Linked DNA regions of Homo sapiens: region 1 is linked to region 2. Evidence: promoter capture Hi-C in human tissues and cell types (Jung and others, 2019). All regions are on one chromosome and are shown on one strand. Each heading gives the region's core, a stretch centred on a gene start or on the middle of the fragment in contact. The rest is flanking DNA. Distances are from core to core; before and after follow the strand shown.

The links. The method cuts DNA at HindIII sites, captures the fragments that hold promoters and counts their contacts. A contact is called where the count stands out against the background at its distance.
Region 1: a contact is called between a fragment that was not itself captured here and the fragment with the promoter of IGSF9B in region 2, in 1 of the 25 tissues and cell types used here (dorsolateral prefrontal cortex).

Annotation. Positions count from the first base shown.
Region 1 is chr11:132,019,893-132,026,301 of GRCh38, forward strand. The region is part of intron 2 of NTM (neurotrimin); the gene reads left to right. Among named protein-coding and RNA genes, the nearest start is that of NTM-AS3, 130 kb to the left of the region's middle. The HindIII fragment of the contact is 9,113 bases long and covers 1-6,283 here.
Region 2 is chr11:133,952,654-133,959,250 of GRCh38, forward strand. IGSF9B (immunoglobulin superfamily member 9B) reads right to left here and starts at 4,315. Exons shown (of 20, transcript NM_001277285.4): 1 at 4,038-4,315. The coding sequence starts at 4,101. RefSeq lists a silencer at 4,144-4,493. The HindIII fragment of the contact is 2,013 bases long and covers 3,901-5,913 here.

The DNA.
Region 1 (6,409 bases), core at 477-2,976, 1.9 Mb before region 2:
AAGGGATCTTGCCTGACGCTGAGGTTTGGAATATGATTGAATCTCTCACCTGCATAGTGTGTATAGTACCTGACAGGTAGTTATTCAATCCTGTACTCCTCCCCTCCTTATATTCCCCCATGTCTATTATTCCCATCTTTATGTCCATATTTACCCAGTGTTTAACTCCTGATTATAAGTGAGAATAGGCAATATTTGATTTTCAGTTTTTGTGTTAGTTCACTTAGGGCAATGGCTTCCAACTGCATCTATGTTGCTGCAAAGGATATGATTGCCTTCCTTTTTTATGGCTGCGTAGTATTCCATGGTTTATATGTACCACATTTTCTTTATCCAATCTACCACTGATGGGCACCTGGGCTGATTCTGTGTCTTTACCATTGTGAATAACACTAATATCTGCCTTTTCATTGTGATATTTATATTATTCATATTTACTGGTACTTATTTTTATGACTGGATTTACATTTGACATTTTGCTATTTGATTTCTGTGTGATTTCTCTTTTTAAGTTCCTCTATTTCTTTTACATTGTCTTATTTTGTATTAAATAAATATAGATAAATATTATAGTGTACCATTTAATTATTGTATTAATATTTTGTCTATTTGAGTTAATGTTTAGTGGTAACTCTAATGAGTATGCTACACATTTTAGCTTATCACAATCTACTTTAGATTGATAGTAACTAAATTCTGGTAAAATGTGGAAAATGTCTGAATTTATCCCTCATATTTGAAAAAAAAGGTTTTTCTGAAAACTAAATTTCCGGTTAATAGTATTTTATTTTCCTTTTGGTACTTGAATATATGTTATCCCATTGCCTTGGCCTTCATTATTTCAGATGTGAGGTCACAGCCATCTTAAACTTCTCAGTGTTCCCCTATAATTTTTTTGGATGGCTATCAATTAATTTTTCTTATATGGTTGTTTTATTTTTTTCTTTGGTTCCAAAAGTTGGATGATTATATGTCAAGGTGTGGCTCTTTTTGTAGTTATCCTACCTTGGATTTGTAGAGTTTTTTAGATATCTAGATTAGTGTTTTTAATCAAATTTGGGAAGTTTTCACTATTATTCATTGAGTGTATTTTTTGCTTCCTCTTTGCTCTCCTTATGGGATTCCCATTATTATATATGCTGGCACTCTGAGGCTTTGTTTATTTTTCTTCTGTCTTTTTTCCCCTCTTTTTCCAACTGGGTAATTTATATGGATTTATTTCTACATTCATGGATTCTTTCTTCTGTCATCTCGAATCTGCTGTTGGGTCCTCCAGTGAGATTTTAATTTTCTCATTGTACTTTTTGTTTCCATAATTTGCATTTGGTTCTCTTTATACTTTTGTTTCCTTTGTTAGACTCTCTACATATGGATTTTTTTGTTGTCATATATTCCTTTAATTTCAAAAACATGGTTTTCTTTAGTTTTTTAAACATATTTATAAGAATGGCTTGAAATTTCAGCTGGTAAATTCAACATCTGGGGACAATCAGAGAGTTTCTATTGCCTACTTTGTTTTGTATGGGTCACAGTTTCCTCTTTCCTTGCATATCTCATACTTTTTTTAAGTGCACGTTTTAGAAAATATATTTTAGCAAATATTCCTAGCCTCACTTTTCCCGCAAAGGTTGTATTTTGCTGTTTTTTTCTGTTTATGTCTTTCCTTGTTTAGCAAACTGGCTAATCTGTGGACTCTGTCTTCTTTGCTATGCATGAACAGTCACTAATGTCTTAGGGATTTTTTGATGTTTTTAAATTTTCTTTAATTTTATATCCTGTTTTAATTTTCAAGTCTCTCTTCCCATAGGTTGCCCCCCAGGACTGAGTTGACATCCAAGGCTTAAACAGAAGTTGTGCTCAACCATCTTGAGCCAGTTAGTCCCCTTCTGATAGATTTGTGTATGGGTAGTGAAGCACCTTCAAAGTGCGGACCATTTCCAATGTCTCCTGATATTTGCTTCCTACTGAGTCCTGTCATGTCCTTTCTGCTCAGGTTTCCAGCTTCAGTGTCAACTAAGAATATAGGCCTGACTTGAGCCCTCTCCAGGCTATGGTGTGTTTGCATGCAGATTTGTACTTGCCTAGCCCTGAGCAGAACCTGGGGTAGTCATTGGCCCTCCCCTCTAGCCTTTGAGAGAATGACTTCTACCAACAGTGCCACTGGCTGTGGTGTCACTCACCATTCAAAGTAAGTGAGCCTCTGAACCAGGGCAGAGATGCCACTGGTCCTCAGGTATTACCCTACCCTGGAGGAACCTCCATGACTGAGCTGGGGCTGGAGTCAGAATACCACAGAGCCCCACAGTTCTTAACCGAAGTTCAGAAGTTTCACAAGAACATATGCTTCTCAGATTGTTAAGATTTCGTTCAATTACCACTCCACTGGAATGGTTGATTTTGTCAATTTTGCTCGACTTTATGCTCTGTTTTCTTGGACAGAATATTTGACAGTCTTCTTTCTTTGCCATAACAGAAGTCACTGGTCTTTATTTAGCACTGTTCTCAGACATTTATATTTGTAGCTTTGGGTGATGTTTCTTCAGAGTCCGCATGATATTCGTTATCACAGCTCTCTAAATTTGTAAGTACACTCTTAGTCCCACGTGGCCCTGCAAAGGACACTACCCACTCTTTGCGAGTTCCCTTGTGCTCAACTAAGAGCCCTCTAACACTTAGGTCCCTAGATCCTACCTCTGACTGTGAAGTAAATTACAAGTTCATGTTTGTTGAATATAATAATGTCAAAAGACAGTCCCTAATCCATGCTTCTCTTGAATTCCCTGGTTAAACTCAGGGGAAACATTCCACAGACAGCTTTATCCCTGAAGTTGTCATGTGGACTAGATACCTGTAACTGCATGGAATCAAGTACAGCAGGAGGAATCTAAGAAAATGTGCACTGTGGTCCTTTAAGATTTGAAAGATGCAATTCAAAGGCTGTTAAGACCTTCAGCTGGTGATAATTGGATTTGTAAGTCAGTGCAACATGTGATAAAAATGCTCCTGCTGGATGGGATCCCGGTTTTCTTCTATCCTTCCTATTAATGTGATAAATGTTACTGTCTCAGCTGATAGGGCCACGTTGGCTAATCAGATTGGAATCAAGTTTGAGTTCCTCAGGCTGGCTCCATGTGAAGCTCATGGGAAGATGTTAAAAAAATACTATAGAGAATACAAGGAGGACCTGGGTTTGCAGAGGGGAAAATTTTACTTTGATTAGGAGGCTTTGCAGCGTGGGGAAGACACATTTACCATAGACCCTAGTCACGTGCTGCCGCCTGGGCATGTTATATCTCATGGGGGACTGTGGGACATTATCTCCATTGTTACTGGGCACATGCCATCGTGGAGCCTGGGGAGAAAACAACAGCAGCTCTCCATGTGGGTTTTGGGGCAGAGAGGAGCCAAAATAATGTTGGAAAATTAAACCTCTCTTAATTAAAGCTGATGGCAAACAAACACAAGTAATAATGCACTACAGCTGGGAAGCACAAGTTCAATATGAAGCTGAACAGCTGTGAAATTGAGCCTTCTGGTCACAGCTGGGCCTGTGAGAAGGCCAGAAACCCTGGCAAAGGTGTTGACCCTGGCTGCAGGGCTGGCGGGGCTAGGGTGGGCAGCCAGAGTGGCTTGCTCTCCTGGTTGTTTTGGAGTTTGCGCCCGCTCCAGTGTCTAGCTCTCTTTGCATTTCCAGACTCCTTCTCACCAAGAGCACCCCTCTGTCCGATAGGATTATTCAGGGTTCTTCTCGAAGTGAACAGCGTTATTGCAAGCACTAGAATTGAGGGGATAGAGGGAAGATATGCTTTGTTGTTGTTGTTGGTTTTGTTGTTGTTGTTGGTTTTGTTGTTGGTGGTGGTTTTGTTGTTGGTGGTGGTTTTGTTGTTGTTGGTGGTTTTGTTGTTGGTGGTGGTGGTTTTGTTGTTGTTGTTGTTGTTGTTGTTGAGATGGAGTCTCACTCTGTCGCCCAGGCTGGAGTGCAGTGGCGCGATCTCGGCTCACTGCAACCTCCACCTCCTGGGTTCAAGCAATTCTCCTGCCTCAGCCTCCCGAGTAGCTGGGACTACAGGTGTGTGCCACCATGCCCAGCTAATTTTTTTGTATTTTTAGTAGAGATGGGGTTTCACCATGTTAGCCAGGAGGTCTCGATCTCCTGACCTCGTGATCCGCCCACCTCGGGCTCCCCAAGTGCTGGGATTACAGGTGTGAGCTACTGCACCCAGCATTTTTTTTTTAATGTAATAAATTTCCCACAGAGAGGGAAGGAGGATAGGGTATGTTTGTTTTGTGTTTTTAAAATTGTTTGCTCTCTGCATTTCCCCAAAGACATCCAGGCTGTGCCTTTACCGTCAGCTTGTTTCTTTGGTCAGTGTCTGCCACTGTGTTCCTGACCTACAGACTTGAAAGGCTTGTGCAGTTGTCCTGGCCTTCAGTATCTGAGGGGCACTGGTTCCAGGATTTCCCTCCAATATTAAAATCTGCAGATGCTCAAACCCCTTACCTAAAATCGGAAATTATTTGTAGAAAATCTATGCATATCCTTCTGTATACTTTTAGTCAACTATAGATTACTTATAATGGCTAATACAATGCAAATGCTATATAAATTTTTACTGTATTGTTTTGGATTTTTTTGTTGGTTTTGTTTTTGAATAGTTTCGATCCCCAGTTGGTTGAATCTATGCATTTGGAACCCGTGGATAAGGAGGGCCAGTCATATAGGGCAAATGTGGGACTGGCTTCTCTCTAAAGAGAGGGATAAAGTACACCTCAGATGCGCAGATACAGTCTGGCTGCAGTTACACTGGGATAGGTATATTCCGGACTTTCCCTGAAGTTGTCAACTTCTGACTCAGTCACATTCTTGACCTCTGAGCATGTAGCTATCACTTTCACTTGCATATTAGCCTTAGTCCTCTTACTCATTTGTCTGTCAGATTTAGTTGTTCTCTGTGGAGGTTAGGAACACACACCGACTACAGGCACTGAGTGTCAGGATTGTCAGGATGGACTAGACTATGCTGTGGAAACAAATACACCCTGAGATCCTAGTGGCTTCATGCGATAAAGTGAATTACTAGTCTCCTTATTGCCTGGAGTAGGTTGCACAGACCCACAGAATGTCTCTCCACTGACTGGAGACTCCTGTGTCTGAATTCCTTCCCTCGTGTGGCACCAGCACCTTGGAGTCATGGGATTCAGCTACAGAGGGGAGAGAGAGAGGCTAGAAGGCTGAGCAGTGGGGTAGCAGGAAAGATTGAGCAAGATGTTTCATGTCCAGGCCTAGGACTGGCCTTTCTCTTCATCTTCCATTGTCATGTAGTCATTCACATGCCGTTGGGCTCACGGTAAGGGAAATTGGAGAAAGAGGTCTGCCATCCTGTGTGCCCAGAATTTGGTGGGCAGGTGGTCAGTCTGTTCTACATTTTAGCAGTCTACCCAATTATTGAAGTCTTAGTGCCTGGGCTTGAAGGGATCTTTGGAAGCAATTTTGTAATTCTTTTATCTGCACCTAAAACCTTAGACTAGTGCTTCTCAAAATGTGGTCCTGGGACTTGGCAGTGAGCATCACTTGGGAACTAGTTAGAAATGCACATACTCGGGCCCCATTTCTGACCCATTGTACGAGAAATTCTTGGGGTTGAGTCAAGGGATCCACTTCAAGCAGCCCTCTGATGCTCCCTAAACTTTGAGAGCCACTGTCCTAGACCGGCAGTTCTCACTCCACTGTGACTACCCACTGGGATTGCCTGGGGAGCTTTGGAATGTTCTGATAGCTGGGTCCATAGCCACAGATTCAGACCGAATTGGCCGGGGGTGTGGCCTGAGCTGAAGATGAGAAGCATTGCCCTAGAATGATTATTGAGGAATAGCTTTTATCCTGAAGTTCTCTGTGAAAATAGATTTCATATGGCTCCATTGGCACTTACTAATCACTCAAAGGCCATGGGAGCAATTGATTTTCATGTCCTAAGCCCTTCCCTTCCCTTTCAATTGGAAGCAACCTCCCAGCTTTGCATAAAGTACAGACAAAATAGAGATTTGGGAACTTAGACATGGAATCCTGATTCTGTCACTGACTCATCACGTGGCCCTGAGTAAGCCAATTAATTTCTCTGTGTCGTGTGTCTGTAAAACGGGAGTAGTAACACTTGCCCACAGATGTTGCCAGCATTATCTAATTAATGAGCACAGAGTGTTTGGGAAATACAAAGTACTGTACAAATGCTAATCATTATGATGAATGCGGTGCATTTTGCAGATATAAAAGTGCTGTGTATATGCTCATAATTATTATAATTATTGCTAATACCGATAATATTCCTACTGCTAATGTATTTCCCTGGCAGTAAGAGCTTAGTGTATTCTTTGGGTTAACATCTTGCCCCGCATGATCAGGAAGTCTTGC
Region 2 (6,597 bases), core at 3,065-5,564:
ACATACAGGTGTGCACACATATGCAATGCACATACATGCCAGCATGCATACACACAGGGGCACATATATGCACACATGCAGGGGCACACACATATGTACACATATAGGAACATGTGTGTATGCGCACACACATGTGCACATGTATGCATGTGCACACACACACACTTCTGGACAGCTGGAAGCTCTCAGCAGTTGCAGCTCTTTGACCATTCAGATCCACTCTTCACACAAGCTGCTTCACCTCTTCTAGGAAGCAGGTGGAAGGGGACCGCTCCCTAAGTACTCTGCACCCCAACCTGAGAAGGCCACAGGATGTGGAGAAGAGAGCTACCTTAAATCTCAGGCCCAGCCCTCTTTGGAGCTTATCTCCCACCCCCACATCTTGAAGCACCCAGCAGGGCTGAGGAAGAGAGGGCCAAGGAAGAAGACACAGCCAGCACCCTGGCTGGGGAGAAGGCAAAGGTACAGGAGGTTGGAGTGAGGGCCAGAGTGATGCTGGGGCTCAGAATCTTCCAGCGAGGCAGCCTCTGCTCCTCTGTAACCAGATTCCAGCCTTCTGTCTCAGAGCCATAAACACGAAACCACTCAAGGTCTATCTAGGACCCTGCAACTCCAGGACCAGCACATGCAGGGCCACAGGCCCGCGGCTGAAAGCTGATTGCCCTCTGCCCCTCAGCCAAGCCCTTCTCACATCCCCGTCTCCCCAGCTTCCCACAGGGCACAGGCTGCCAGACACACTCCTGTCCCCAGCATGTGTGTGCTGAGGATACACACACACATCCATCCAGCCACTGACCACTTCCTGAGTGAAGTCCTTCTCAGCCGATAGGCTCACCACGGGGTCTTGATAGCAACCTCTGAGTCCAAACCTCCACCCTCCCATCTTCATTACCAAAAGGAAGCATAGGTCAAGGCCAGGTAGAAAGTAGAGGGCAATGGCCCAACTACCAGCAGGATCTGAGTCAGAACCTCACTGTATTTGGGGACACTGTAGTCAGGGATAATGTAACGACAGAATCTGTGGCAGACAGAGGAGGCAGCCGTGGGAGTAAAGTCTGGGACTTTCCTCCCCTATCCAAGGTCCACAATCAGCTAAGCACGGCCCAGGGTCCTCCCACAGAGTAGGAACTCCCCCGGGCTGGCTCAGCAGCCGTCTGAGATACTGAGTGCACACCAATCACTGTCTTCCAGGTTCTGGGTACCACTCCAGCCCCTCTCTTCTCCACACTTCCCCAACCTGTCCACTGACCTTAATCACCTCCCAGGCACACACACTCAAAGTCAAAAGGAGGAGCCCATTCCAACCTCTGTCCCGCACCCGAGGGCTGATGGAGTCGGGTCCCAACACAACATCATCCCTTTCCCCCTCTGCCAGAGCAGCCCCTGCTATGGCCAAATCCTAAGGGTGGCATCTCAAAGTCCCTCCTGCTGAGGGACTGCCCCAGAAGTCACCTCTGCCAGTCAGGGAACAGCTGAGCTCTCACAGGGAGACTCAGCAGCATGTGGACACTGGCTGGTGCTGCTCACACGAGCGGGCGCCCACCCGCTCTCTCCAGAGGCTGTGTGTTGCAAGCCCTCACTTCCCGGGCTGTGTCCTTCCATAAACCTCTGGCCACCAACAACACTCCAGCTTTGGAGACCTTGCAAAGGACTTCCGAGCAGCTTTGAGGCCCGCACATCCTGCACACGTGTCCCTGGGATGCCAGGGACAAGAGGTTCTGCCCAGACAAGGTCAGCCCAGAAAGGGGTCTTACTTCCTGACACAGGCAGCCTTCTGAACTTCCCCGCAACACATTCTCAGCTCCTAGTGCCCTGAATGGCCCAAGGGAAAGAAATTGAGGAGGATCTTGGAATCCCAGGGACACTGAGAAAATAATGTTAATGTTTACTGAGCACGTACTATATAACAGGTAGTTGTTTTGTTTCCTTATAACACTCATGTCCACCTAAAAACCCTAAAAGTACATGCTATTGGCACATTTTCTATTGAAGCAAGTGACATTTAGAGAGGTTGAGAATTTGTCCAAGGTCACAGGGTCGGCAGGTGACACAGCCAGAATCTGAATCCCAGTCATATGGCTCTAGACCTAGGTCCTTAACTACCACACACAGAGCAATTGAGGCTAAGAAAGACCCCAAGACCAGCAAGGTCACCCTCTGCTTCCAGACAGGGGTACATGTCCAGCCATTCCAGACAGAAGGACCCCTCTGCACCCTGAAAGAGGGCATAACCTTCATGCCAGGCAGCCTTCAATTTTGGGAAGCCCTTCCTTCTATCTTGCGATTCTGCGTGTTGCTGCAGTATAAACTCACATTCCTTTATTCTGGGCTGAAACTTGCAAAGAAGTCCATTGCCCACCCTGACTTAGGTTCGGAGGCTATTTCAGAGCCTTCCTTCAGCGTCTCTTTTCTATTCAAAGATCCCAGCTCATCCTTTTGTGCTTTCAGGGACAGTCCCATAGCAGGAACATACCAAAAACGGGAGGGGAGGAGGATGCGGGCATTGGAAGACGGCAAGGAAATGGGGGAGAGGATGAGGCTACAGGCAGACTGTCAAGCGCAGCCCGATGCACCTCACATCCACCCCCCGTTCCGTAAGCTTCCGCCATCACCCTTGCCTCAGTGTTCCCACCTGACAAATGAAGAGTTTTAAAACCGTCCGGACCAACATGTCAGTTAACAAAATCACCCTTCGCTTCGCCCTCTGCTCGTTCTGTTTTCAGACACCACCACCCCCCTCAGAAGCAGAGGCGACATATTCATTCCATTCCGGAAAGTTTCCTGAAGCACGCCCCCCTGCACAGACGAGTGACGAGGGGACCCCGTGAGAGGCGCCTCCAGCCCACCCGGCGCCCCATGCCGCTGGGAGAGGGTTCTCTGTCGGCGAGTCCTGCCTGCTGACTCCCACCCACAGCGGGTTCTCTCCCGCCGCCATCTCCTCCGGCTTGGTGAACTTGCCCGCAGCCGGGTCGTGTCTGCGCGCTGACAGCCCTGAGCTCACAGTCCTGGCACCCTCCAGGCTCCGCTCCCACTTCCATACAAGGGCCGAGAGCCGGGGGTGCCACCCAGAGGCTTGTAGGTCGCTCTGCCCATCTCCAAAGCAAAAGCCCGCGCGCTCACGCACGCATCACCCAACTCGGTGGCTCCCCCCTTGCGTCTCCCCCAGCTCAGACCCAGGAAAGCGGAAAGAGAAAATCCCCCCTCCGCTCGGATTCACAGCGTGGGGACCCCCCCTTCCCCGCCCCTCCCCTCCCCCGCCGCCGCCCCCAGCCAGCTCTGCCTCGCAGCCTGGGGAGGGCGGCGTGGGGCCCGCGCGGCTGCGGCGCGCTCCCGGGGAACTTTTGCCTGGCCGGGGCCCAGGTGCGGCTGAGAGGCGCGGGGGCCGGCGGGGTCCAGCCAAAAGCGGACACACCTCGAAGCTGGCCTCATCAATCCTCCTCTCACCGGGCGCCCCTGCTAGGGGGATCCGACCTCCAGCTGCCAAGATGTGTGGGCAGGAGGGGCGCGAGCGGAGCGATGGACGCCCGCAGGGCCGCGCGAACCCGGGGCCTTAGACGCGGGTGCCGCCAGTCCCAGGGATCCTCCGGGTCGCGCCTCCCTGCAGGCGCTCCTCGCGGCGCGGGGCTCTAGCGTGCTGCAGCCTGCCCGGAGACCGCAAACTCCCGCAGCCAGAGTTTCCCGCAGCTCTGGGAGGCGGCCGCCGGGCAGGAGGCGACGGGCTAGGCGCGCCGGTGTGCACCGTGGGGCCCGTGGTGGGCGAAGTCGACCCAGGTTCCACTGCGTCCTTTCCCCGAGTGCCCGGCAGCCCGTGGGCTCTGGCCCCTTCCCGCCCGCCCCTCCAGCCCACGGCCCCCAGGCCCTCCCCGGCAATGCTCCCGGGCCGCCTGGCCCGCGTCGGAGCCCAAGCCTCACCCGCGGGAAGGCGCGCCGGGGAGCTGGGGAACCGGGGGGCCAAGGAGCCGGGAAACCGAGGGGCCGGGCGCGAGGGGCCGAGGGCGCCGGGAGGGGCAGGGGAGGGACGCCGCACTTCAACTCACCTTCAGCCGCAAGCCCTCGGGTGCCGATCACACTTGCTATGAAAGTGGCCACATACCAAATCATAGTACTACCGCGCCAGCCCGGAGCCTCATCCTATCGCAAAGTGCTCCCGCGCCCGCACGCGCCTCGCGCCCGAGCGCCCGCCTCGCGCCCGCCTCGCGCCGCCTACGCCCCGCGCCGGTGCTCCTGCAGCCCGGGTGGCCAGCTCTCCATCCCTCCTAGGCTCCGCTCGGCTCGGCGCGCGCCTCCCCGGCCCCGGCGCAGCGGCACCTGCACTACTCGCCCGGGCGGAGCGCAGCCAGGTCCACGGTGAAGCCTAGCCGGGCCGGGCCTCCGGAACCGCCCCCGCCGCCCGCCTATTGGGCGCCGCCCGCAAGCCGGGGGTCCGATTGGCTCAGCCTTCCGCCCGTCGCGGCGCGAAGGAGGCGAGCCCATTTCAAGGTGCGTTGAAGTGTGGCGAGCACAGAGCCGCAGAATCATGCGCATTGCCGGGGAGAAGGTGGTATAGCGTCTCTGCCCGCTTCTCTCTCGGCTCACACTGCGTGGCAAGTTTCTGGTGAGGGAAATGGTAGCTTCTAACGGGACCCTGGCGGGTCTCAATTACCCCGGACAGGTCTGAGGGAAGTGGAGCCCCCGCCCACTCATGGAACCCAACATCCGGTTTCCATCCGGCAAAAAGCAGTTCCCGAGAGGACCATGCTGATTCTATGATGGGGAAACCCAGGAGCCGGCGGCCCGGGAGAGCCGGGGAACGTCCTTCGCCGGAGATCTTTTCAAAGAGGTCACGCGCCGCCTCCCCACCCCGTCTCCCTCCGCACCCAGACACGTCCCCAGAGCAGCGCACCACCCCCTCCAAACGTGATGCAGACCGGGGGATGACTAAAATGACCTCTCAAAGTCGCTAAGATTTAGAGTGAGTCATTGGCTCAGCTGCGAAGTGCCACAGACCCCTCAGGAACACTCGTGCACACACACTCCACCCCCAGTGCTGGTCACTGCTGCTCATCATTACTGAATCCCGACTCCAAGCAGTCAAAGTTGGGTCTTTTTCCCACTTCTCCTGATAAAGGCTGCTTCCTCACGCACATGGTTCCTCCCCTCTCCACCTTACTCGGAGCCCAGCCCCGACTCGGCCGCATGAAACCAAGATGGGTTTGGGGGAAGCTTTAGGAGTCTGGGATGGAGGAGACCCAGGGAAAGGGAAGGAGCTTCTCATCCTACAGAGGAATGTAAATAGGAAACTGGAAGGTCTTCGTATGTTCCAGTCTCCCTACCCTAGCCTGTCTGCTTCCCCTCCCCCAATACAGTTGTATTTGCAGAAGAAATAAATGAGTGTCATGGAAACATCTACTACAAACAATCACCTCACACCAGCGCTCAGAGGCTGCAGTGAAGATGTTTGTTCTTTCAAGGAGTGAAGGCAGTGGTAAGAATCACACCGCTCCCTGGGATGGGCTGTTGGCCAAGGAAGGAAGGCAGAGGGTCAGCGAGCGAGAGCTCAGGAATTTCATCCTCTCAAAGCACTCGTTAGCCACAAAGCCCTGGCTCCAGGACATGAAGCTCCCAAAACAACAAGAAGGAGACTTGCTTCTGGGAAAGCGTGCACACAGGTACACACACATGCACAAAAAGTGGCCTTGAACACCGGAGGTGGAGCATTCCCTGACACCGGAAGCCTCTTAGCTCACCGCCAGCTGGGAGGCAGAAAGAGGCCCCCAACAGAGCAGTCAGTGAGCACATGGATAAAGGTCGAGGGCCTGGATAGATCCAGAGAACCAGGACTGTTGAATAACCTTCTACCCTACCCACCCCTCCACCTGTGCAAACACACTCAAGATGCATAACTTGGGGCCATCTCTCCCTGAGCCATGATTTTGGTTCTCTTCTTGGGCAAAGATGCCTTTCTGGGGACAATGAAGTGAGCTGCTCCAGGTCTCATTGATGCAGTGATCTCCAGGTCTCATTGATGCAGTGATTTCCAGGTGGCATGACCCAGAATAACTCCACCCCCAACACACACACACACATATACATACACACACACTTACACACTTTCCCAGGGCCCCGGGACTGTAAAGACATATTGGAATCCATTTGCAGAATTGGTCATAACAGGATCCTTCTCCTCCCACAACCTCTAAGCAGCTAACTGTGGCCTAGAGAAAAGTGCCGGATCCACAAAGCCTGGCCCTAGTTCCTCACCATTGTTAGGTATGGAGTGGGAAACATCAGGTCTCAGAGAAACCCTCTCCTAGGGGCCTGCAGGGCAAGGAAAAAGATGGAGCCACTCTCACCACCCATCTTGATTGCTTTGTCTGGCCATCCATTTGTCCTACTCAGGGTTCTGCCTCCTGCTAGGAAAGTAGAACTGTCTGTCAGAATGGATGGCGGGCATGGAGGCTCATGCCAGTAGTCTCAGCTCCTCAGGAGGCTGAAGCAGGAGTATTGCCTGAGCACAGGAGTTCTAGGCTCAGTGATCATGCCACTGCACTCCAGCCTGGGTGACAGAATGAGACCCTGTTAAAAAACAAACAAAAACAACAACAAAAGTGTCTGTCA